Linked DNA regions of Homo sapiens: regions 1, 2, 3, 4, 5 and 6 are each linked to region 7. The links are contacts of gene promoters, found by promoter capture Hi-C in blood cells and fetal thymus (Javierre and others, 2016). All regions are on one chromosome and are shown on one strand. The core of a region is centred on a gene start or on the middle of the fragment in contact, and the rest is flanking DNA. Distances in the headings are between cores, read along the strand shown.

Evidence for each region. Contacts are between HindIII fragments. The CHiCAGO score rates a contact against its expected background, and 5 or more counts as called.
Region 1: a fragment that was not itself captured here is called in contact with the fragment with the promoter of RNF152 in region 7 in 6 of 17 cell types (M2 macrophages, M0 macrophages, M1 macrophages and 3 more); the score reaches 14.3 in M2 macrophages.
Region 2: a contact is called between a fragment that was not itself captured here and the fragment with the promoter of RNF152 in region 7, in 5 of 17 cell types (megakaryocytes, M2 macrophages, endothelial precursors and 2 more). The highest score is 10.7, in megakaryocytes.
Region 3: a fragment that was not itself captured here is called in contact with the fragment with the promoter of RNF152 in region 7 in 2 of 17 cell types (M2 macrophages and M0 macrophages); the score reaches 10.6 in M2 macrophages.
Region 4: a fragment that was not itself captured here is called in contact with the fragment with the promoter of RNF152 in region 7 in 1 of 17 cell types (M2 macrophages); the score reaches 6.2 in M2 macrophages.
Region 5: a contact is called between a fragment that was not itself captured here and the fragment with the promoter of RNF152 in region 7, in 12 of 17 cell types (endothelial precursors, megakaryocytes, M2 macrophages and 9 more). The highest score is 22.0, in endothelial precursors.
Region 6: a fragment that was not itself captured here is called in contact with the fragment with the promoter of RNF152 in region 7 in 2 of 17 cell types (megakaryocytes and M0 macrophages); the score reaches 6.1 in megakaryocytes.

Annotation. Positions count from the first base shown.
Region 1 is chr18:61,610,974-61,613,896 of GRCh38, reverse strand. No RefSeq gene overlaps it. Among named protein-coding and RNA genes, the nearest start is that of LINC01544, 140 kb to the left of the region's middle. The HindIII fragment of the contact is 7,553 bases long and covers 1-2,923 here.
Region 2 is chr18:61,551,377-61,554,760 of GRCh38, reverse strand. It overlaps CDH20 (cadherin 20), which reads right to left. Exons shown (of 12, transcript NM_031891.4): 12 at 1-571. The coding sequence ends at 66. Among named protein-coding and RNA genes, the nearest start is that of LINC01544, 200 kb to the left of the region's middle. RefSeq lists an enhancer at 168-675. The HindIII fragment of the contact is 6,299 bases long and covers 1-3,384 here.
Region 3 is chr18:61,594,087-61,597,335 of GRCh38, reverse strand. All of the region lies in intron 3 of LOC124904314 (a long non-coding RNA gene), which reads left to right. Among named protein-coding and RNA genes, the nearest start is that of LINC01544, 150 kb to the left of the region's middle. The HindIII fragment of the contact is 3,345 bases long and covers 1-3,249 here.
Region 4 is chr18:62,154,359-62,157,584 of GRCh38, reverse strand. It overlaps PIGN (phosphatidylinositol glycan anchor biosynthesis class N), which reads left to right. Exons shown (of 31, transcript NM_176787.5): 6 at 358-456; 7 at 2,934-3,040. Among named protein-coding and RNA genes, the nearest start is that of PIGN, 31 kb to the left of the region's middle. The HindIII fragment of the contact is 3,994 bases long and covers 1-3,226 here.
Region 5 is chr18:61,577,871-61,580,991 of GRCh38, reverse strand. LOC124904314 (a long non-coding RNA gene) reads left to right here. Exons shown (of 7, transcript XR_007066395.1): 6 at 1,536-1,585. Among named protein-coding and RNA genes, the nearest start is that of LINC01544, 170 kb to the left of the region's middle. The HindIII fragment of the contact is 1,816 bases long and covers 945-2,760 here.
Region 6 is chr18:61,532,110-61,535,056 of GRCh38, reverse strand. All of the region lies in intron 7 of CDH20 (cadherin 20), which reads right to left. Among named protein-coding and RNA genes, the nearest start is that of CDH20, 200 kb to the right of the region's middle. The HindIII fragment of the contact is 2,184 bases long and covers 286-2,469 here.
Region 7 is chr18:61,891,352-61,894,516 of GRCh38, reverse strand. It overlaps RNF152 (ring finger protein 152), which reads left to right and starts at 1,510. Exons shown (of 2, transcript NM_173557.3): 1 at 1,510-1,722. RefSeq lists silencers at 1-104, 175-324. The HindIII fragment of the contact is 8,244 bases long and covers 1-3,165 here.

The DNA of each region.
Region 1 (2,923 bases), core at 110-2,609, 280 kb after region 7:
AAAAACGACAACAGCAACAACAAAACAGTCAACACAAATGGAGATTTCCTTCATAGATGTAAATTTCCTTACAATGGGTAACTTTAACGTGTCAGAGCTTCTCCTGTGTCTGCAGTTTCTTAAAATAATTAGCTTAAAATGATCCTTATGCCAAAGAGGCATATTTTGGAGTGGCATATTCTGGTCTCCAACAAGAGTATGGTGCAAGGTTCAGACTGGGCAACCAGCTGAGATGTGCCTACAGAGTTTTAGGGTGCTTAGCCAGAAACTGTATCCAAATCTTATGCTTTTTTACTACTTTGTTCAGCCAATTTGCAGAGGTAGGGTAGAGAGAGTGTCCAGTAGAGAAAGCAGAAGAGGAAAAGGTCCAAGACTAAAATGAGGGTCTTTGAGAAGGTGGTTCTCTCCACGTAATGCTGAGGATGGTTGAATACATGCCAACCAAGCTGCAAAGTAAACTTGGATAAAACAATATGCCACAAAATTAGTGCTCTCAAAACCCATCCTGTCATCCTAAGTTCTGTCCATATAGTTTGATTTTCCCAGTCAAGTTAATTTTCAAAACAAAACAACACAAAACAAAGAGAAAACCTGTGCCTCGGCAGAAGAAACATGGGTGGGAGGTGGGTTTATCATCACTGTAGGGAAAGCTAAACTTTCCTTCCGAAGGCTCAGTAATTGAGTTTGCTGAAATAAACTCACAAGAGACAGATTGACAGGAGAAAAGGCATACAACAGTATTAATGTGCAAGTGCATAAAAGGCTTACAAAGTTTGAACACCTGAAGAAGGGCCAGATGGCTGAAACTGAAATGCCCTGTTTGTAAGGGAGAGCAAAGTGGGGGATGTAGACAATTTTAGAGGAAGAGTAAATGGTTTTTAGGGGAGATATATGGGCTTAAAGAATAGACAATAGGCTGGGACAAAGTTTCTCTGGGCTCTGGGGAAGATGGTGACAAGTTATAGGAAGCTGAGGGACAGAACTGTACTGTGAACAACAGTTGTTATGCTGATAAAGTCTCTCAGGTAACAGGCCTCAGAAGAATAGATAAAAGGTCTGTACAGATGGGCATGGGAACAGCCTTCATTTTCTTCTTCAGTGACTAATCCCCTGACAATGAGATTTCAGACAAATGTTTGAAGGTAATTGTGTTTCTTTTGGTAGTACTGTCCTCAGTCAGCTAACTTCCCTAGAGAGAGCTCCTCCTTGTGTTTGGAGGAAGAAAAAGGGAAGGTCAGAGAGACCTTGCTTCTGAGGCAGCTTCTAAAGCCTTCTAATTTCCTTTAATTCAAAGTGCTTAGCATGCCAAAGACCATACTTTGTGGTATTGTTTTCTGAGCTTCAACACTACCTTGGTCCAAGTAATCAGGCCTGGAGTTGAAGCAGAACAGTTGGTTCTTCTAGCTGAGATCCCAAAGAGATGCATTCAGTAGTGAAACCAGCATTGCAAATTTATAACCGAGACAGTGAAAGAGATCTAACTTAACCAATGCAATCTTGCTTCCAACCTCCAAGCTGTCCTTGTTCATTCCAGGGTATAGGCCAAACTTACATTGAGAGGCACTAGTTTATCATTGGAAACAAAGAAGAAAACAGCCCTTTACCCAAACAGACCCCCTTCTTACCTTTGGACTAGACTGCCTTTATAGGACTAACAAATTAGCCAAAAGACTGGAAATTTTGGTTTAGGAGTCATGCAATTGGAGGCTACAAGATTCTGACCCTCCCCAAATTGCTTCTAGGAATAACATCACTATTGGAAAATCTTAGATCAGTGCTTGAGATATTTTGCCAACACTGAAATTGATGGACCAGCTGGCACCACCCAGATTGACAAAATGGCTCATCTGATCTTGTGCCCCCTCAACCCAGGAACTGACTCAACAGAAGAGCACAGCTTTGACTCCGTATGATTTCATTTCCAACACAACCAATCAGCACTCCTGACCACTGGCCCCCAACCCACCAAATTATCCTTAAAAACTCCAATCCCTGAATGCTCGGCAAGACTGATTTGAGTAATAATATTTCAGTCTCCTGCACAGCCGACTCTGTGTGGATAACTCTTTCTCTATTGCAGCTCTCCTGTCTTGATAAATTGGCTCTGTCTAGGCAGCAGGCAAGGTGAACCCACTGGGCAGTTACTGTAGCCTCCACCTAATAGAATTCTAATTTAGTGCCTCGTAGAAAGAATGAAGTCCTTCAGTGATCAGCATGGGAATCATTTTGCTTAGCTTATCTCACCTAGGAACCATGCTCCACATAGTGTTTCATCCAGTTCCATCTTCATTAATTGAACATATGGGGACCCACTTGGAATGAAGAGTTGGTATAAAGATTAAGTTGAAGACATCTGAGATTCAACAGGTACAGAAAGGAGCCTTCTTGAAGCATTCCTTATCTGACTAAAAGCAGGAACCTCTGGTATGTGAGATTGCCATAAATTCTCTCTTTAGGGCAGGTCTTTGGGAGACAGACCAAGAGTTAACCTACCACAGATTCGCTCTTCCAGGGAGTTTCATGACCATGAAGAAGATAGACCACTTATCACAAACTTTCTTATCTTTAATTTGTTCTCCTAAAAATCCATCTATCATTCCTAAAGAAACTTATTTGTTTTTCCCATAGATGTCTTTTCTTCCATCTTCCTTTTCTCTCATAACTTAAGTACATAAGCCCCACATTCTAACCACTTCTTTGATTTACTGAGCACTCCTGCATATATGCCCATTATATGAGCAAATAAACTTCCTCTTCTTCTTCTTCTTCTTTTTTTTTTCAGTTTAATTTGCAGGCCTCCTAAGGAACAGAGAAAAAGTTTTTCCTCCTTCACAAACTCCTGCTGTGTTAATTTGAACTAGGCATAGTGCTGCGTACTGGGGTTGAGGTGTGGGGAACATAACCCACAAATATCAGTGAAATA
Region 2 (3,384 bases), core at 706-3,205, 340 kb after region 7:
CCTTGTCCGCGAAGCACCCGCGGAGAACGTCTGGATTTGGACGCGCGCCTGCCTCCTGGCTTCCGTCACCACAGCGGCGCGGGTCCCTCCGACGCCCCGTAGAGCTCGGCCAGCTTCCGGAAGCGGGGCCCCCAGTCCGTCAGGAAGTCGAAGCTCTGTTCCGAGTCCGACGTGGCCGACTGCAGGGAGCTCAGCGACCCCGCCACAGAGCCGTCCCCCTCGAACATATACGTCTGGAGGGAGTCGAAGGGCGGTGCCCACAGGTCCATGTCGGCCTCGTAGAGCTTGGCCAGCACGTAGCTGTGGACAGTGCTGTTCACTGCGCACGTCTGAGGCACGTAGCGGGAGAGGCTCTCGATCTCGGGCAGCATGTCCTGCCGCGTCTTGGGGGCGGCCCCCGCCTGCGCCTCCCGGGGGTTCCACATGGCCGCGATGTCGAAGGCCTCGGTGTCCTCCTCGCCGCCGCCCTCGTCGTCGTAGCGGACGATGTTCTCGTGGATGTTTTCCTCGTCGTCGATGATGTATGGTTGTTTCCGGTGCCGCCTCATGGACAAAATGAGCAACACCAGCACTGCCAGGAACAAAAAGGAGAGTGTGTTTACCGAGGAGATGTGGCTGTGTGTGCGGTGACTAGAAGTAGTCTTGATTCACCACGGATAGGGGAAGGGCTACCGAGTGGAGGGCTCAGAGATAGCTTTTGGATATCTGAAACCTCGGGGAGTTCTAATTTAAGTCCACTTTGTCCTCTTTCTGTAAGTCAGGTTGTGGACAATGAAGCCCTGTATTTCTTCAAATGGTTTAATTAGAAAAAGTTGCCTATAGTCGCTTACCATCAGCTTGCTGTTTTGAAATTGTGTGTCTACACCTAACACCCAATTTAAAATCCCACTAACAAAGCACAAAGGCCTGCTATGGACCAACATACTCTAAGGACCAGATCACGTGCTCTGTTTATATGATGAAAAATATACATTTATCCTCTTATAATGTGAAAGTCTTATTATGTAGGTGGAATTCTGCTTCCGTATATTAGCATCTTAATAGGATTCTACTCTGTATATAATCATATCTTAATATGCATAGAGACACACATACTAAGTGTGCACCAAAGTTGTAGTCTTTTTATACCTCTAAAAAACAACAGAACATAAGTGATCCCTGGGGTCCAATAAACTCAGGTTCCTCAGAGAAGCCTTTCATTAAAGAGGTGGTTGTGGCTTTCTGGACCCAAGGGTATTTATGGAAGGCAGAGAATGAGCAGTGGCCTTTTATATAATTCATCATGTTATCAAAGAAACACCACACTGTTAGATGTGCCCTTGCAGGTTTGGATAAAATTTTATCCCAACAAATGCATTTTTCCCCCCTAGAATGTGTTCGCTGGGGTTTAAAGGAGAGATAGAGATAATCCCATTGAGCTATTTATCTCTCTGAAAACGTTTTCCAGGAAGAGTGTTGAGGTTTTAGCTGTAGAACTGCTATTGATTTTTTTTTTTTCTGGTGTGCTTTGTTATAGCTGGTGAACAGTGACAGTTTGACAGCACTGCAAAATAAGACCCCAGTTTATCCAAGGGGAGAAAGTGGAGTACATTCATACATGCAGTAAAAGATTACCGACTAATAAAACTCACAACAATGATTTAAAAATTTTTTTGAATGTAGATGTGCTTTTTTATCAATTGCAATTAATGACATTAATACGTAATATTTTCCCAGATAGCTTTGGTGACAAAACATACACAGGAAACGATGATACGCTCATGTGTATTTTCCCTGTGTGCAAAAATACGAGGCGTGGACTGAAAGGAGGGTGGGATTCCTAGAGAAAAAGAGACTAATAGGACTCTAAGGAAGCGTGGGCTTGAATCGAGCCTGAAAGGTTGGAGTGTGATTTGGATTGATGCAGGTTGGAGACGTGAGATTCGAAGTGAGCATGCTGTGTTTGCAGGATTCAGTAAAGTTATTAAACCCAAGTATTTTTAATCCTCTATGCTAAGCAATGGGGAAACAATATTGAGTGTGACATGGATTCTGCTCTTGTGAGCTTGTAATCTAAGGAGATTATGGATGCTGATAATTAATGCAAGTCAGACAGTGATAAGGGCTGTTAGAGCCACAAGTGTCACTGGGAGAGTACAGAGGCAGGGCCAGTGAATTTTACCTGGGAGACTGGGTAGGGCTTCACAGAGGTGACCTTGAAGTGGTAGGGGCGGTATTTTGGATAACGCTAGGAAGCAAAATTGGAAGTCTTTTGAATACCTTGCTGGAGAGAATTCTGATGGTCATGGAGAATTAGGCCGTTTATATAGAACTAGTCCGTCTTTTGAAAAATAAAGACAGCTACATGTCTTTTTTTTTTTAAGGTAATCTAATTAGGTAAATAACAAATATTACATAACAAATATTACATGATGCCCTGAAAATCAGATTTTGAGGAAAATGGTCTTATTCAGCTGAAAGGCTTCTCTGACAGAAGAGAATTAGTTCTAGGGATGGTTTATTCTTCGTGTACTATAGGCACGGTGCGTAGAGCTTATGAGATTTTCTAGGCACTAGATACATATATGAGACATGAAAAAAAAAAACCCAGGAAGTCAGAATTAATTTATTTAGTTGTCTATAAAATATAGTATTTTGTTGACAAATGCAAGTCAAATCTTAAAGTTTGATGAATTATTTTTAATGTGGGATGTGTACTCTTAGAAGTAAGGGTACTTAAAACTGTGAGGATTTTATGACAGCTCTGCTCAATTTAGCTCCTGAAAACTGTTTACTTTTTCTGTACGGTTTAAAAGACAAGACATCATCGTGGGTGGGAAGGGATAAGATAAATTGTCCCTTGCACACCATTTTTAACTTGAGAGCCTCTCCAAGCCAGTCTCTTTAAATCAGTATTTCTGTAATGATGGCTTTTTGTGGGCCAGGGCGAACTTTTAACTTCGACATTTTCCAAAGATAGAAGTAAGGACAGCCAGTCTGGAAATTCCTCCCAGGAACAAGTTTCTTCAAAGGCCTCTTACAGGTCATCCACTTCTGTGCTAAAGGACTCCCAATGCCACCTTATGGAAACTCAAGGAATTGCAGGGAGGTTTTACTTGTCAATGCAGTCAGGGACCAGAAACCGTAACAATTTTCTCTTGACACAGGGATCCAAGAACTTAGAAAGGTTACTTATTTATACTCTTCCTCTCTTTACGTAGGACTGAACTAAAACAACAAAATTAAACCACATGTTGTATTTTTAAATGTATTTTGAGAAGCACATTGCACGGACCTACCTAGAAAATCAAGTGTTGACATTTTACACAGGAACTTCTTTCTTTGGTCTGTCTCTTGGTATAGAGGTGAACTTGGGATCAAGGGTGTATGTGAATATCTGTACCT
Region 3 (3,249 bases), core at 376-2,875, 300 kb after region 7:
GCTCACACCTGTAGTCCCAGCACTTTGGGAGGACGAGGTGAGCTGATGACTTGAGGTCAGGAGTTCGAGACCAACCTGGCCAACATGGTGAAACACTGTCTCTACTAAAAATACAAAAAATTAGCTGGGCGTGTTAGCACGTGCCTGTAGTCCTGGCTACTTGGGAGGCTGAGGCATGAGAATCACTTAAACCCAAGAGGTGGAGATTGCAGTGAGCGGAGATCACACCGCTGTACTCCAGTCTGGGCAATAGAACCAGACTTCATCTCAAAAAAAAAAAAGAGATGTTAATCCACCAAGTTAAAACAAATTATCAAGAGTCATGTAATTTTAAAGCTGATAGGCAGAGTGAATATTGTAATCTTTGTTTACACTTTTACAACATGATCATTTTAGCTGGTAAACACATAAACCAATCCAGTTTTGCAAGATTCAATAAACCATGCTATTGTTTGCATTTTGGGACTCCTGCAAGTGATTTTAGTTACTATTATGTTTTTGTTTTAGCATTCACGGTTATTATTATGTAACATATTTTTACAACTCGGAACAATGTCATTCAAATGTTCACAAAATAGGGATGCAAGCATTTACATTGAAAAATGTTCCCCCAAATCAATAGCATTTGAAGGGAAGTTATATGTGATAAGATGCCAAGAAGGAGGGAAAACGACTACTGTGAAACATGGTGCAGTTAATATGGGAGACAGCACTCCATGAAATATTAGATGTAATGCTGGGAACAGGAAAAACAGCTTTAAAAGCAAAAAATATGTTATAACTTGTAAATGTGCTCTGAGAATACATCTGTCTTATTTTATATTTATTCCCTTGAGAAAATCATTCTTGAATTATGCAAGTTCGAATTACACAAGGTCTGGCAAGACACATCTTTTGTATGAAATAAGACCTCCCCACATTTTTATAACCAGAAATAATCCAACTTAAAAAAAAGTCAGTGCTGTTTCGCACTTAAATAAACAAGTTCCAGGTTGTCTTTTTAATAGGAAAACTGCATTTTTAGATTATATAATCCATCAGTCTGAATTGCTTAGGAAGTGCTTAGCAAAGTCATATGTGCATATAGGTGTAAAGGAAATGTTTTTTAGTGATAAGAATCGGATAGTTAATATTTCAAAAGCATTTTGTTCAGACAGGTGGAGAGCTAAATTAATTTCCTTGAACTGTTTAGGAGAATGCACAGGTATTAATCTAATTCAGCTTCTTATTAGTGCAAAACTCACAGGAATGTTACCATGTAGCAGTCAGCTGTCCACATGATTTATGCTATTTATTATTTTTAAAAGGAGGAGTGTTTTGCATTTCTATTTCCATGTGATAACCTCGGCAGAGTGAAATCCCATTTCTACTTTCCACGGTGTAATAAAAACAGATTTGGCTTTTCAAGTTCAATCGTGTGATTTGTGTGCGTAGTTTCAATTTGTGATGTGTCAGCCAGTGAACAGCTGATTTAATAACAGTTAAGAACCTCTACTACGTAGGAATGACTAAAGTGATGTTTCTGTAGATCAATAGTATTGCCTGGTTTTACTGAGGAAATAAATCATTTTGCTGCACGGTTGCCAAAATGTGAGAGGTTTTTGGATCGATGACACAAACCTATGTTATCTTTGGAGAGACTATGAGACCTTAGTTCATCAATCAAATCAACTTTAATTGAATCTAATTTAATGGACTACTGCCTAGTAAAAAGAACACTTAAAGTCATAGTTGAAACGCACAGGGCTTTTCTTTTCCTACAAGTAGCAAATACACTAAAGAGAAGGTGGCAGCTCAGTGGAGCTGCTGGCACGCCCTCCCTGCTGATGGATTTCTGAGAGTGGCTTCCCTTCTGATATTCTTGCTCAGAATGAGAACGTAGGACCTGAGTCTTACCTTTTAATGTAAGAAAAAGATGCTGCAGGCTATGTAGGCAGGAACCAGTGGATCTCTAATTAGGTTTTTAGTGTCGAAAAACAGGGATCATCTAGAAATGGCCTCGCTTTCCCTCTACTCTTTCACATTCTTTTTTTTTTTGTGGTAAATATTTATTTTTGTCATTTTAGCCATTTTGAAGCATGCAATTTAGTGGCATTAATTATATTCACAGAGTTGTGCCACTATCACCACCATCTAGTTCCAAAATGTTTTTATCACCCCCAACTTATATTCTTTAAGCAACAACCCCTCATTTTCTCCTTCCTCAGCCCCTGATAACAACTTCTCCTTCTTCTCCTTCTCCTCCTTCTCCTCCTCTTCCTCCTCCTCCTCCTTCTTTCTCCTCTTCCTATTCTTCTTCTTCTTTTTTTGAGACAGGGTTCCACTCTGCTGCCCATGCTGGAGTGCAGTGGCACACAGCTCATTGCAGCCTTGACTTCCTGGGCTCAGGTGATCTTCCCACTTCAGCCTCCTGGGTAGCTGGGACTACAGGCGCTCACCACCATGCTCAGCTAATTGTTTGCATTTCTTTTGTAGAGACAGAGTCTTGCCATGTTGCCCAGGCTGGTGTCAAACTCCTGGGCTCAAGCAATCCACTGGCCTCGGCCTCTCAAAGTGCTGGGATTATAGGAGTCAGCCACTGGGCTTGGCCACCCCAGGTAATTTTTTTTTTTTTTTTTTTGATACAGAGTCTTGCTCTGTCACCCAGGCTGGAGTGCAGTGGCATGATCTCGGCTGACTGCAACCTCCGCTTTCTGAGTTCAAGCGATTCTCCTGCCTCGGCCTCCTGAGTAGCTGGGACTACAGGCGCCCACCACCACACCTGGCTAATTTTTGTATTTTTTGTAGAGACAGGGTTTTGCCATGTTGACCAGGCTGGTCTTGAACTCCTGACCTCAAGTGATCCACCCACCTCAGCCTCCCAAGGTGCTGGGATTGCAGGCATGAGACGCCACACCCAGCCCACTCCTGGTAATTTCTAATCTATTTTCTGTTTCTATGAGTTTTCCTACTACAGATACCTCATATGAGTGGAATCATACAGTATTGGCTCTTTTGTAACTGACTTATTTCACATAGCATAGTATTTTCAGGGTTCATCGATGTTGTAGCATGTTTCAGAACTTCCTTCCTTTTAAAGTTTGTTCCTGGGAAACCAACCCAGGGCAGCAGTATGACAGTCGTATGACACAGCGGTATGAGAGTAGGAGTAGGGGCTGATGTGGTCTGCAGGGCATGGGGAAGATGTCCTTGAGGTAGTGATGTTTGAACAAAGCTCTGAAGATTAATTGGCTCAGGATTCCACAGGCT
Region 4 (3,226 bases), core at 466-2,965, 260 kb before region 7:
ATTTTGGACAAATGTTTTAGCATGCTTTGCTGACATGAATACCCACTGGTACTGACTCCAGAATTGAAACTTTAGTATTTCATTATCCTGTGTTATTGAAAGAATTTGGGTTGGATGGAAGCATAATTTTCCTAGATATTACTCTTGAAAGTTCAAAAATAATTTTATATTTCATTAAGAAGTAAATTATCTATTGTTAGTTTTTTTTTAAATAGTGGTATAATATGCATAATATAAAATCTATTAGTTTTGCATTTATTCACTGACTAATGTAATTGTTATTATTTGAAGAATAGTTCTTTAGGGGCTTATTGTACCATGTGTATATAACTATTACTGCTTGCTTGCTTTCTGAAGGATGGAAGGAAAATCCTGTAGAGTTTGATTCTCTTTTTAATGAAAGTAAATACACATGGAGCTGGGGAAGCCCAGATATCCTGCCTATGTTTGCCAAAGGTAAGAGTCACTGATTATGTTTCCTCAGATAGTAAATAGGGAGTAAGTCAATATGGTAGTTTTCTATTTTTATGTATGTAATGTATGTGTTGATTTTTACACATATTTTTACATTTTTAACATTTCTGAAATAGGGATGTTTAATTACAGTATTTTTTTTTCCTTCTTAGTTATACTTGAGATATTGGCACATCATACAGTTAGATAGTATTTTGGATTCAATTAAGTGGTATATAGCACTATCGCTTAACAGCTATATAATCTTGAGCAATTTATATAACCTCTCTGAGCTTCAATTTCCTTTTCATAAAATGTGATAATATTAGTTTCTGTCTCATAGATTTATTTTTATAATTAAATTATGTAATTCATGTGAAATATTTAGCATAGCACTTTTCACATAACTTGATTATAAATGATGATGTTGAGGTGTGGTTCATTATACTTTGGTAAATTATTTTAAAAGTTAGTAGCTACTCATATAAAGATTTAAACATTGGCTGGGCACAGTGGCTCACACCTGTAATCTCAGCATTTTGGGAGGCTGAGGCAGGTGGATCACTTGAGCTCAGGAGTTGGAGACCAGTCTGGGCAACAAGGTGAGACCCACATCTCTACAACAAACAAAAAATTAGCTGAGTGTGGTGGCATGTGCCTGTAGTCCCAACTACTCAGGTGGCTGAGGTGGGAAGAGTGCTTGAGAGCCTGGGATGTTGAGGCTGCAGTGAGCCATGATTATGCCACTGCACTCCAGCCTGGGCAACAGAGCAACACCCTATCTCAAAAAAAATATTTAAGTGTTAAAATATATAGTTATAATTCCTGTTTTAATACATCGAAGATGCCATATATTCTGGCATTTGATATATATGGCATTTAACATATAATTTATTTAAATTGATATTTAATATACTGAATGTAGCATTTAGATTTATTGTTTATATGCATGATTCTGCAAATATTGGGACATCTCTTAATTAGAAAATTCATTTATATTATTTTCTAAAATCAGTTGGATGAATTTCATGTCATTAAATGCTTTTAAGTGGGAGCAGAAAGATTGATCATTTCACTTATCAGAAAGGATTTGTAACATACTTAGTCATGAGTGTAATTAAAATAATGGGAACTATTGAAGATTATTATGTGTCCAGGAAGCAAAATATATATTGAGAATTTTACAGATGATAGTCATAGAACATTATTATACTGGGCGGACCAAAAAGCCCCAAACTGTTTGCCATTTATATATTGCCTTCTTTGGAAAGCAGTTTCGTTTTTTTGGGAGCTGGTGGTGGTAAGGGTGGATTCAGTTGCTATGGCTTATCAAACTAACATTCCTATTTCTGGCTACAATGGATGGGAGAGGACAAATAATTGAATTAGAGATAGTCTAATGTTCCATATCTTGTAGTAAACAGCAAACCCAGTCAGACCTTTTTATTTGGGATGTGGGAAGAGGAATGGCTGAGCTGTGGAATAGGGTCATTAGAGCTGAACTGGTGCTATAAAGATTGTATTACTTTATTATATATCTCTCTTTTTGTTTTTGTTTTTTTGAGACGGAGTTTTGCCCTTGTTGCCCAGGCTGGAGTGCAGTGGCACGATCTCAGCTCACTGCCACCTCTGCCTCCTTGGTTCAAGCGATTCTTCTGCCTCAGCCCCCTGAGTAGCTGGGATTACAAGCGCACACCACCACACCCAGCTAATTTTTTTCTCTTTTTAGTAGAGACGGGGTTTCATCATGTTGGCCAGGGGGGTCTCGATCTCCCGACCTCCGGTGATCCACCTGCCTCGGCCTCCCAAAATACAGGGATTACAGGTGTGAGCCACCACACTGGCCATATCTCTTTCTTATTACCTGCAAGAGCCTATCAAACTCAGAAATTCACTAAACTGTTTAGATTCTTAATACACTCTTGCAAATATATGAGATTGTCATATCTGTTGACCCCTTCAAACTCTTTGGCAATAAGCAATATTTATTCTCTTAGAAGTTGAGAAAAATACTCATAGTTTATGAATAAGAGAAGTGAAATATCTGAATTTTCTTCTTATGTTAAGAAGGTTTGTACAACACACATCATCTATTTTAGATTGTAGCATTCTAAGGGGCACACATGTTTTGAATAGTTTAATCCTTAAAGGGAGACAAATATTGTGCTTATTTTTGTTATATTGCTTATTAGAGTTGTGATTTTGGTGTGTTAATTAACATATAATGAATCTGCGAAATTAAAATATGTTATTTTTGAGGACAAAAAGCAATAGAATACATTAAAGTATGTAGCATGGTCCATAGCACATAACATAAATAAATGTTAATTATTCCTCCCATTTTTCTCTTCCCCATCATAATGAACAATGCTTTGTGAAAATTCTGGTTACTCACAAAAATCTGTGAATGACTAGCTCATATTTTATGATAGTTTAAAAGATTTTGTAAAAAGATTATTTTTTCCAAATTTTCTTTTCAGGTGCTAGTGGAGACCACGTTTATACATATAGTTATGATGCTAAAAGAGAGGATTTTGGTGCTCAAGATGCAACAAAACTGGATACGTGGGTTTTTGATAATGTTAAGGTTTGTGCTATTGAGTGGTTAATATACAAAAAGCATATTTTTACCTGAAGTATTGGAGACTGTATCCCACGTTTTTTCTGTTTTCATGAGCTTTGAAAGTTCTATGTTGTAGCACACTGTTCTGAATTCTAAGATTTAATTCTAAAAAATTACACATTCTAAATAAATAAGAGAAGTTTTAAACTC
Region 5 (3,121 bases), core at 603-3,102, 310 kb after region 7:
TCCCATATTGTCCTAGGCTGGTTTCTCCAAAATGCAAGTCACAAGCCATTGCTGGCTCATAATATCAATTTAGAAAGTCACAATCTTTATTTTTCTTTAAAGGAGTAGAATGGAATACAAATTACAAAGTACATTCCAAGTAATAGAGTATGATTTCCTCAAAAAGCTGTTTCAGGTGTGTGTGTATGTGTGTGTGTGTGTGTGTGAAAATAAATGTGATAATAGATGTCAGCTGCCTGGAATTGTGTGAATCGTGTCATAATGTAAAACATTTACTGTGGGTCATGCTTAGAGAAGTTTGAAAGTCATTGTTTTAGCCAGGGGTGGTGGACATGCACTTGTGGTCCCTGCTACTCAGGAGGCTGAGGCAGGAGGATCTCTTGAGCTCTGGAGATGGAGGCTGCAGTGAGCTGTGATTGTATCATTGCACTCCAGCCTGGGTGACAGAGCGAGACCTTGTCTTTAAAAGAAAAAAAAAGAAAGAAAGTCACTGTTGTAGATGTGGCTTCTTGTTTGAGCAAAGGAAGGTGGGGTGCAGGGGAAGGGGAAAGGAGAAGGGAGCAGAAAGAGGAATCTTGAGGGACCCTCTGCTGCAGATTAGTGAAGTATGTCTGCCCCAGCCTTACCCTGGCCACTTCTGGTCCTTCTGCGGTGATGGGCTCCACTGTAGTGGTGTTGCTGTCATAGCTGGTGTTTGTGGTTGTTTAGGAGCTGTGTTCAGTTTCAGCTTCACTGAGGAGCTACCACGTTTCCAAGACAACAGGAAAAAACATCCCACTAAATACCATGTTGCACAAACTTTTTATTGGAATGTCTACAATCTTCCATGTACCTTTTTCTTTAGTCATATAATATTGTATGTTCTTGGCTTCCATTTCTCCCCACTGCAATATTCCTGCCATCTGGGGTCTCTTTTCCTATCACCCTGCAACTTCCCAAAAGCTTCCTCTGAGCTGCTGAATGGGAACCGACCCAAGCCTCCTCTGGACCCCCCACATTTGGTCTCCTTGGCTATTACATGTTTTCTTTCATTTTTCCTCACAGTGAAATGAGTGGTTTATCTGTCTCCTCTACCAGACCGTATTTCCTAGAGGATGTGGGTCACAGTCCAGTTGTCCTTGCATGCTTTGTAGCACTTTCCATAGAGTAAGTGGTGAAAATGATCATAGCACATTGAATGGCAAAAAGGAACTTCTTAGTCATCTCTTAGGAAGCATTTTCTATAATTGTCTGGTTGCAATTCAGGATTATCATTGTGTGCCAACAGCTGCAGGCTCATTTTAAATGTTGATTCTACAAATCCTCTCAAATAACAATGCCTTATGTTGACTTAGATTTTATAAAATGTCCTAGGTCACATGGTTTTGTTTAAAACACTTCTTTTGTCTTTGAAACAGCCAAGTGAAGTTCGATGTGGTAGATGTTACTTTCATTTTTTAGATGAGGAACTGTTCAGAAAGTGTAAGTGACTTGCCCAAGGTTCCTTGGATAGTAAATCACAGCTTGTGTTCTGTTCCTCTCACCTCTTTGCACAGAGCTTTGACATTCTTCTGTCAAGTCACCTTGCAAGTCTCATGCTTTCTGGGTAAGTAAATGCCATCCATGTACTTGTCCCGGGTCTTCAGTGATAAGTTTTGGTCCTGTCCTCAGCTGCTGGTGCCTCACTGAGTATATGACACTAGGCAAGCCATTGACCTGTTTCCACATCTCAGATCTTTCATCCTGAAAATAAAGATGACAATAGTTGCAGGCTGCCTCGAATGGCGTGGTGAAGATTAATGAGATGATGCAGAGAAGTGCCCTGAGCTTCTGGGACAAAAGGCTTGGTAGAAGCACAAAGTCTAATTATAATTTTCTAACATTTTCAAAGAGCCCTCTGGAAAGGCTAGCTCTTGCTTCTAAATTTGGAGAGGATGCCTGCCTGGGACAGATTGTTTTCTCTCAACTGGCAGCCCCAGCAGCCTCCTGCTTATGCTGGCCTTGATGGTTCTGCTCTGATCCAGTGGCACTCAGTCTACCTGGATCCCATTAACAGTAGAAGGTACAGTCCCCAAAAGTGCCAGCCCCTGATCTTCCATGCCTTTTGGATGGAGCAAGGGTAACCCACTTTGGACAGGCATCAGATGGGGTTCAGTTATTCTTAGGGAATGTAGATATAGTCCCTGGTCTAAGGATGGGAATGTGACATAGATTAGGGAGAATATAAGAAGTCTGCTTGGACCTTCTAGGAAAAATTTTTCCTCCCTAATAAGAGGAAGTCACAGAAAATCTTCTAGCCCTATGCTCAGCTTCCTGCCCTTGAACACAGTTTGAGATCTGAACCTTGAAGCTGCTGATGCCATCTTACAAACCAATGGGGAAGCCAAGAGAATTCAGCAACATTGGCCCAACGCCATTGAGTCCCTTAAACAGCATGGCATTTCTTATTTGTGACAAAAACAAATCTTTGCTTAAACCATCATCCGCATGCTGCTTCTGTTCCTTATAGACAGATACCAGTAGCTGAACTGATGGCTGTGTCAATCATGGTGTGGTTGCTCAGGTCCAGGGGGCGTTGCAGATTATCTGACCTGGAGTGTTACTGTAGAGGTTTTGGAACGCTGAATTTTACACAGAAAATCTTTGGCTTTGCTCATTTTCTACCCTGCTTTGTTTTCCTTTGGGCTACTCTTTCACCTAGCTACTCATCAAATGATCTATCCTGAGTGCAGGAATAAAATCAATACTAGAGCCAGTTTCCAAGTAATAGGGAGGTAAGCTTTGACTTTTCTCTTTCCCATTTCTTTTTAGAATTTATATAAATTTAGGGTGTACAGAAGCAATTTTGTTACATGTGTACAACATGTAGTGGCAAAATCTTGTTTTTCAGTGTAGCCATCACCCCAATAATGTACATAGTACCCATTAAGTAATTTCTCATCACTCTCCCCTCTCTTGTCCCTCCACCCTTCTGAGTGTCCACTCTCCATCAGCCCACACTCTTTGTCTATGCATACACATTATTTAGCTCCCACTTATAAGTGAGAACCTGAGGTATTTGATTCTCTGTTTCTGACTTGTATCATTTCTCAGCATTCGCATCCAGATATTCAGAGCCCTCAATGTCCCTGACTCTGTACCT
Region 6 (2,947 bases), core at 128-2,627, 360 kb after region 7:
GGTGTGAGCCACCGTGTCCAGCCATTTTTATTTTTTTAATTGACAAGTAATAATTATATATATTTATGGCGTACAATGTGGTATTTAGATATATGTATACATCATAGAATGATCAAATCAGGCTAATTAACATGTCTATTACCTCACATATGTATTTGTTTTTTGCAATGATACCATTTAAAATCTATTCTTTTAGCTATTTTGAAATATACAATACATTATTATGAACTACAGTTACCATGCTGTGCAATAGATCACAGGAACTTACTACCCCTTACTGAAGCTTTGAACTTTTTGATTCTTTTTCCTTTTTACCCACCAGCCTCTGGCAATCACTATTGTACTCTCTACTTCTATGAGTTTGACTTTCTTACATTCTACATATAACTGAGATCATGTGGTATTTGTCTTTCTGTGCTTGGCTAATTTAGCATAATGTCGTCTAGATTCATCCATGTTGCAAATGACAGAATTTCTTTCTTTTCTAAAGCTGTATTGAATATTTAAGGCTGAAACGAATATTCCATTGTGTATGTATGCCACATTATTTTTACCCATTCATCTGTTGATGGGCACTAAGGTTGTTTCTGTATCTTGGCTATTGTGAATAATGCTGCAGTGAATATGAAAGTAGAGACATTCTTTGACATATTAATTCCAGTTCCTTTGGATATATACCCAGAAATGGGATTGTTGGATCATATGGTAATTCTCTTTTTAGTTTTTTGAGGAACCTCCATACTGTTTTCTACAATGGCTGTACTAACATTCTCATCAACGGTGTGCAAGGGTTCCCTTTTTCTACACACCCCAGCCAACACTTACGTTTCATGTTTTTGACAACAGACGTTCTAACGTTGTGAGGTGATATCTCATTGTGGTTTTAATTAGCATTTTCCTGATGATTAGGGATGTTGAGCATTTTTTCATGTATGTTGGTCATTTGTATGTCTTCTTTTGAGAAATGTCTGTTTAGGCATTTTGCACATTTTTTTTAACAGGGTCATTTGTCCTAATTTTGAAATAATATTACAAAGCTATAGTAATTATAACAGCTGGAATTAAAACAGACACATCAACCAACTAAATAGGATAGAGAGCTGAGAAAAAAACTCATGGGTCTACAGTGAATTAACTGATTTTTGACAAAGATTCCAAGAACACATAATGGGGAAAGGACAGTCTCTCCAATATAGTGTTGAGAAAACTAGATACCCACATGCAGAAGAATGGAAATGGACCCTTATCTGACCCCTTATACAAGAATCAACTTAAAATGGATTAAAGACTTAAATGTTAAGACCTGAAACCATCAAACTACTAGAAGAAACCTTAGGGGAAAAGCTCCACAATGTTGGTCTGGGCAATGATTTCTTGGATATGACCCCAAAAGCACATGCAAAAGCAAAAATAGATGAATGGGATTGTATCAAACTAAAAACTTCTGCACAACAAAGGAAACAACAGAGTGAAGAGACAACCCACAGATTGGGAGAAAATATTCTTTTCATAAAATAAGGGGCTAATATCCAAAATATATAAATAACTCAATAACAAGAAAACAATCCTGTTTTTAAAAGACCAGTAATTACAATAGCTGCCATTTGCTGAATATCAGGCACTTTACTATGTACTTAATACACAGCTTCTTTTAAAATTTTTCCAACATCTCTGGGAGGTAGTTATTATCCCAATCAACAGATAAGGAAACTGAGGCTTAAATAAGTCACTTTTTTTTCTTTCTTTAGAAATGGGTTCTCTTTCTGTCATCCAGGCTGGAGTGGTGCAGTGGCATGACCAAACTCACTGCAGCCTCAAACTCCTCGGCTCCAGTGATCCTTCCGCCTCAGCCTCCTGAGTAGTTGGAACTAGAGGCAGGTACCACCCCACCTGGATAATTAAATTTTTTTTATTTTTTATTTTAAAAGACAAAGTCTTTTAAACAGCCTGTGTTGCCCAGGCTGGCCTCAAACTCCTCAAACTCCTACCCTCAAGTGATTTTCCTGCCTCAATCTCCCAAGTAGTGGGGATTACAGGCATAAGCCACTGCAACTAGCTGAAGTCACTTTTATGCAATTACACAGGTAATAATTTAAGAGGTAAGACTTGAAGCCATCTTTATGGAGTTATAACTACTGTGTTTGATTTGAAGCTATATATACAAAATTATAACTACTATGTTCTTAAAAATTATTTAAATAGGGACTGGGAAATATATTGGGTTCAAAATTTGATTTAAAGTTGCCAGCAACTGTAATCCATATCTTAACGTTGTAGAGACGGAGAAGCAGCAATTTTGGAGGGAATAAACATTTTCTTTACTATAGTGCATTGTTTTTCAGATGTAGCTTAGTGGATTGTGAAATCAATTTGGTGGGTTATGATTAGCATAGAAAGAAAATGAAATAGAATAGAATATATGCATGCCAAACTATCACATGCAGTAAGGGTAAATATTGATGTAAAGCTTTTGTTTTTTATATATATGTGTGTGTGTGTGTATATATATATATATATATATATACATACAATACACACATGTATACAGTTGTGCATATATATCGTTGGTAAAATGTATTGTATCAAATACAATGTATATTTTTTTTCTGCAGAGATTCAGGATGGCTATTTAGGAATTAGGAATTAAAGAGAAAGCTGATGAGTAAGAGCTAGAGAAATCAGAATCATTTAAGTTATGACTCCCTAAGAGTTAGGAAATTTAAGGAAGAAAATTAATGTTTCTCTCTGCCTGTGACCCTATTTAATGAACATTCACTGTAAGCCAGGCACTGCTCAGCACACATCACCTATATGGACTCATTTAATCTTTACAATAACACCATGAGGTAGGCACAATTATGATCCTTATTTTACAGGTAAGAAGTCTGAGGAGTAGACAGGTTAGGTCCCTTGCCCAAGGTCACATTGCTGGGAATCAAGCCCAGGC
Region 7 (3,165 bases), core at 261-2,760:
CCGGGGAGGGCGGTGCCGCGGGGAGCGGAGCCCAGCCTCTCCCCCCACCCCCTTTGGTGCCGGAGTCTCAGTGACACAAAAAGCTCTCGCTCGGTGCCGAGCGCCTGGCGGCGGTGTCCGACCGCGAACGCGGAGGGCGGCCGGGCAGGTGGGGGTGCCGCCCGAAGGGCCGGGCCGGGTGCTGGGGCTGCAGGCGCCGCCGCCGCGCTGTCAGCGTCCGCCCCGTGGCTCTCGGCCGGAGGAGCGGCGGCCGCCGGCCCGGGGCGCGAGTCTGGCTGAAAGGAGCGGGCGCGCCGGGACCACCCGGCGATGCTGTCGCCGCCGCCGCCGCCTCTGTAGCGAGCACCCGAGCCCGCCGCGGAGAAAGGTCAGTGAGTTTCGGTTTGTTTCTCTGCTCTGCCGGCTCCGGATCGGGGGCGGACAGAGGGGTGCGCAGGGATGTCTGCGCCCCTACGGCGGCCGCGCCGAAGCCGTGGAAGCGGGAAAGGGCAGCTGCCGCCTGCTGTAACTGGGGAGATCTTCTGGACCGCGGAGGGGGTGGCGGGGCCGCAGGGTCCCGGGGAGGGGAGCGCGGGGTCTGGCGGGGCACGGGGGAGGTGGTCCCGGGAGTTGCGTGTCTCCTGAGAGCTGGCGGAGTTGGGCGGGCGGCCGCGGCGGGGAGCGGCGCTGTCGGCTGCTCGGCCGAGTCCTCGGATGCCCCCTGGAGCTCCGGTCCGAGGGAGCTTTCCTCGTGCCCGCGCCGCGCGCGCCCCTGGGTGTGCACGTGCGCGCGCGCCCGCCCCAGTTGCGCCCCCGGCCCGCACACACCCCGGCTCATCTTCTCCCGGTCCCCTTGTCTCGCGCCTTCTCCAGCCCTAGAAGTTGCCCCAGGGCCCCTCCCGGGATTAGAGAGCGCTGTGAAGGGCCAGATGTTGGGGGTCTTTTGTGCAGACACACGCGCCTGGGGCGCTTGCTCCTGGAAGGACAGCGGCAGGACAAAGCCAGCTGGACTCGTGGGGCGCTGCTCGGGAAGCGGCGGTCCCCAATCCCGCCTGGGGTCGGGGCATGGCTTGGGGAGCGCTGCCTGGGTCTGGAGAGAGTAGAGAAATCGCCAAAGCAGAGTGACGGTGACTTGATGAGGTGACGGTGACTTGATGAGGTGGCGGTGACTTGATGAGGTGGCGGACAGGGGCAAACGAAAGAAAGATGCTCGGGATTGCCGCGCTGTGTGCCTGTCTGCGCGGCTGACTAGGCGCCCCGCATTCCCATATGACCGGGTTACCTGGTAGATTTTGCCAGTGTGTCTTTGCCCCAAGATGTTATTCCCCACCTGCTCCGATTTCTTTCTTTCCTAGGGCTTACTGTTGCTAGTAGGCGCTCTGCCACCAGAGGGGAACTCGTGGGCGGGGGAGACTGCGGAGGAGGGGGGAGGTGGTTATTTATCCTGTAGAGACAATTAGGAGCCGTGACGCCCCCTTCTCGGCCGCCAGCCCTCCACACCTCATCTGCCTTGCTCCACCTCCCTAGTGCACCCGCTCCAGCCCCGTCTGCCCAGGAGGGCGCTTGGATTTCCTTCTCCGCGGCGCGTATCTAACCCTTCCTGCATGTATTTCACTGCAGGCTGAAGAAAGCTCAGTCTCAATTGTGTTTCCTGCCTGTCAGCCTCTTGCCTCCTAAACGTGTACCATTTCCACTTGATGTCATCACGCAGAAGGGGTGAAAGAGACTCGGTGACAGATACAGGTAACCCCCCACGATCTGGGTAGCGCCTGGGTGTCTCTGGGTCATTTGGGCCGACAGTGCTGGCACAGGGCTGTTTGGGTGGTTTCTGCATCAACATCGTTCCTATCTGTGAGAAGGTGTGGGGGCTGCTAAAACTCCTGGTTCAAAGAAATAAATTGCAAATGACTTTATACCTTCCCTTTGAAGAAGCCATTGGAGGTAGGTGCAGGGTGAATTTGGGATTGTAGAAATCCCACCTGGTTTCCTTTCATGGGAATTTTGATATAATTCATACACAGGCAGTTGTATCTGAATGTTAGGTTTCCATAGATGCCTGCTTTCTTATCTGTAGTAATAGATTTAGGCTTCAGTCTAGAGGTGGGGTATCCTTTGTTGAAAAGGTATCATTGGAAGGCTGATTGTACTTTTGCCCAGTGCTCTAATTGAGCACCGGTCAAATGCAGTGACCTTCGTATGAAATACTGTCTTTCTTCTGTTCCTTCATTGTAATAGTGTTTGCAATATTAAGAGAGACATGCTAGCAGTGAGTACTGGGAGGTGGAAGGGAGGGCTGTTGGGGGCAGCAGAAAGAGAACAGAGAAAACAGCTTGAGTGAAGTTTCCATTTAGATAGCCATGAACCAGTAGACTCTCATTCTGGATTTTATCTTTAGGTTATTGGGGCTTTTCCAAAAACTCTGGCCTGTTCTTTTCTTTCCAAGGATAGTTCTGTTTTGATGTCAGCCTAGCCAGATCTGGGGTTATCTTGATAAGAGTGCAATGAAAAAACGTAACCTTCAGACTTAGCAGGACACTCCGGCATTAGCATTTTCTGCTAGAGGGCAGAGTCCTGCGCATCCTACACTAGTAGCAGGGAATAAGAATGGTTATGGAAATGGGCTTTCGATTTTTCTTGTAGGAAGACAGATTGCTGAGGGCCAAAGGCTCCTGGTCTACTCTCTTTTACATTGCAGTAACACCTTGGTATCTGTGACAGATTCTCTCTTCACCATTTTCCTCCAAATCCCTTGAAAAATGAAGTTAAAAACTTGAAAGATTTATTATTCACCTCCAATGTAGTTTTGTTTTGGAAGGTGACTTTAAAAACATAGGTGACACTAGCATTTATCCTTCTACTACAAGCATTCAGGAGTCACTAGTAAAAGCAGTTGAGTTATCTAGTCCCAGGTGAAACAAAGGCCAGTGCTTTGCAAAGATCAGATGAGTAATGTGGTGCTAAGATAGAGGTATTTTTGACAAGTAATTTTTATGTCAGCAATAGTACAGGGTGTGTACTGTGTTGCTGCAAGAAGAAAAAACATGTGATGGGATAATAGGGAATGTAATAATGCAATAGAAACAAGGGTGTGGTTTTTTTTTTAATAGAAAGAATAAACACTTCGCACACAAAATTCCACATGGCAAAACAGTAGCCTGCCCATGTAAATGCACGTCCAAGAACAAA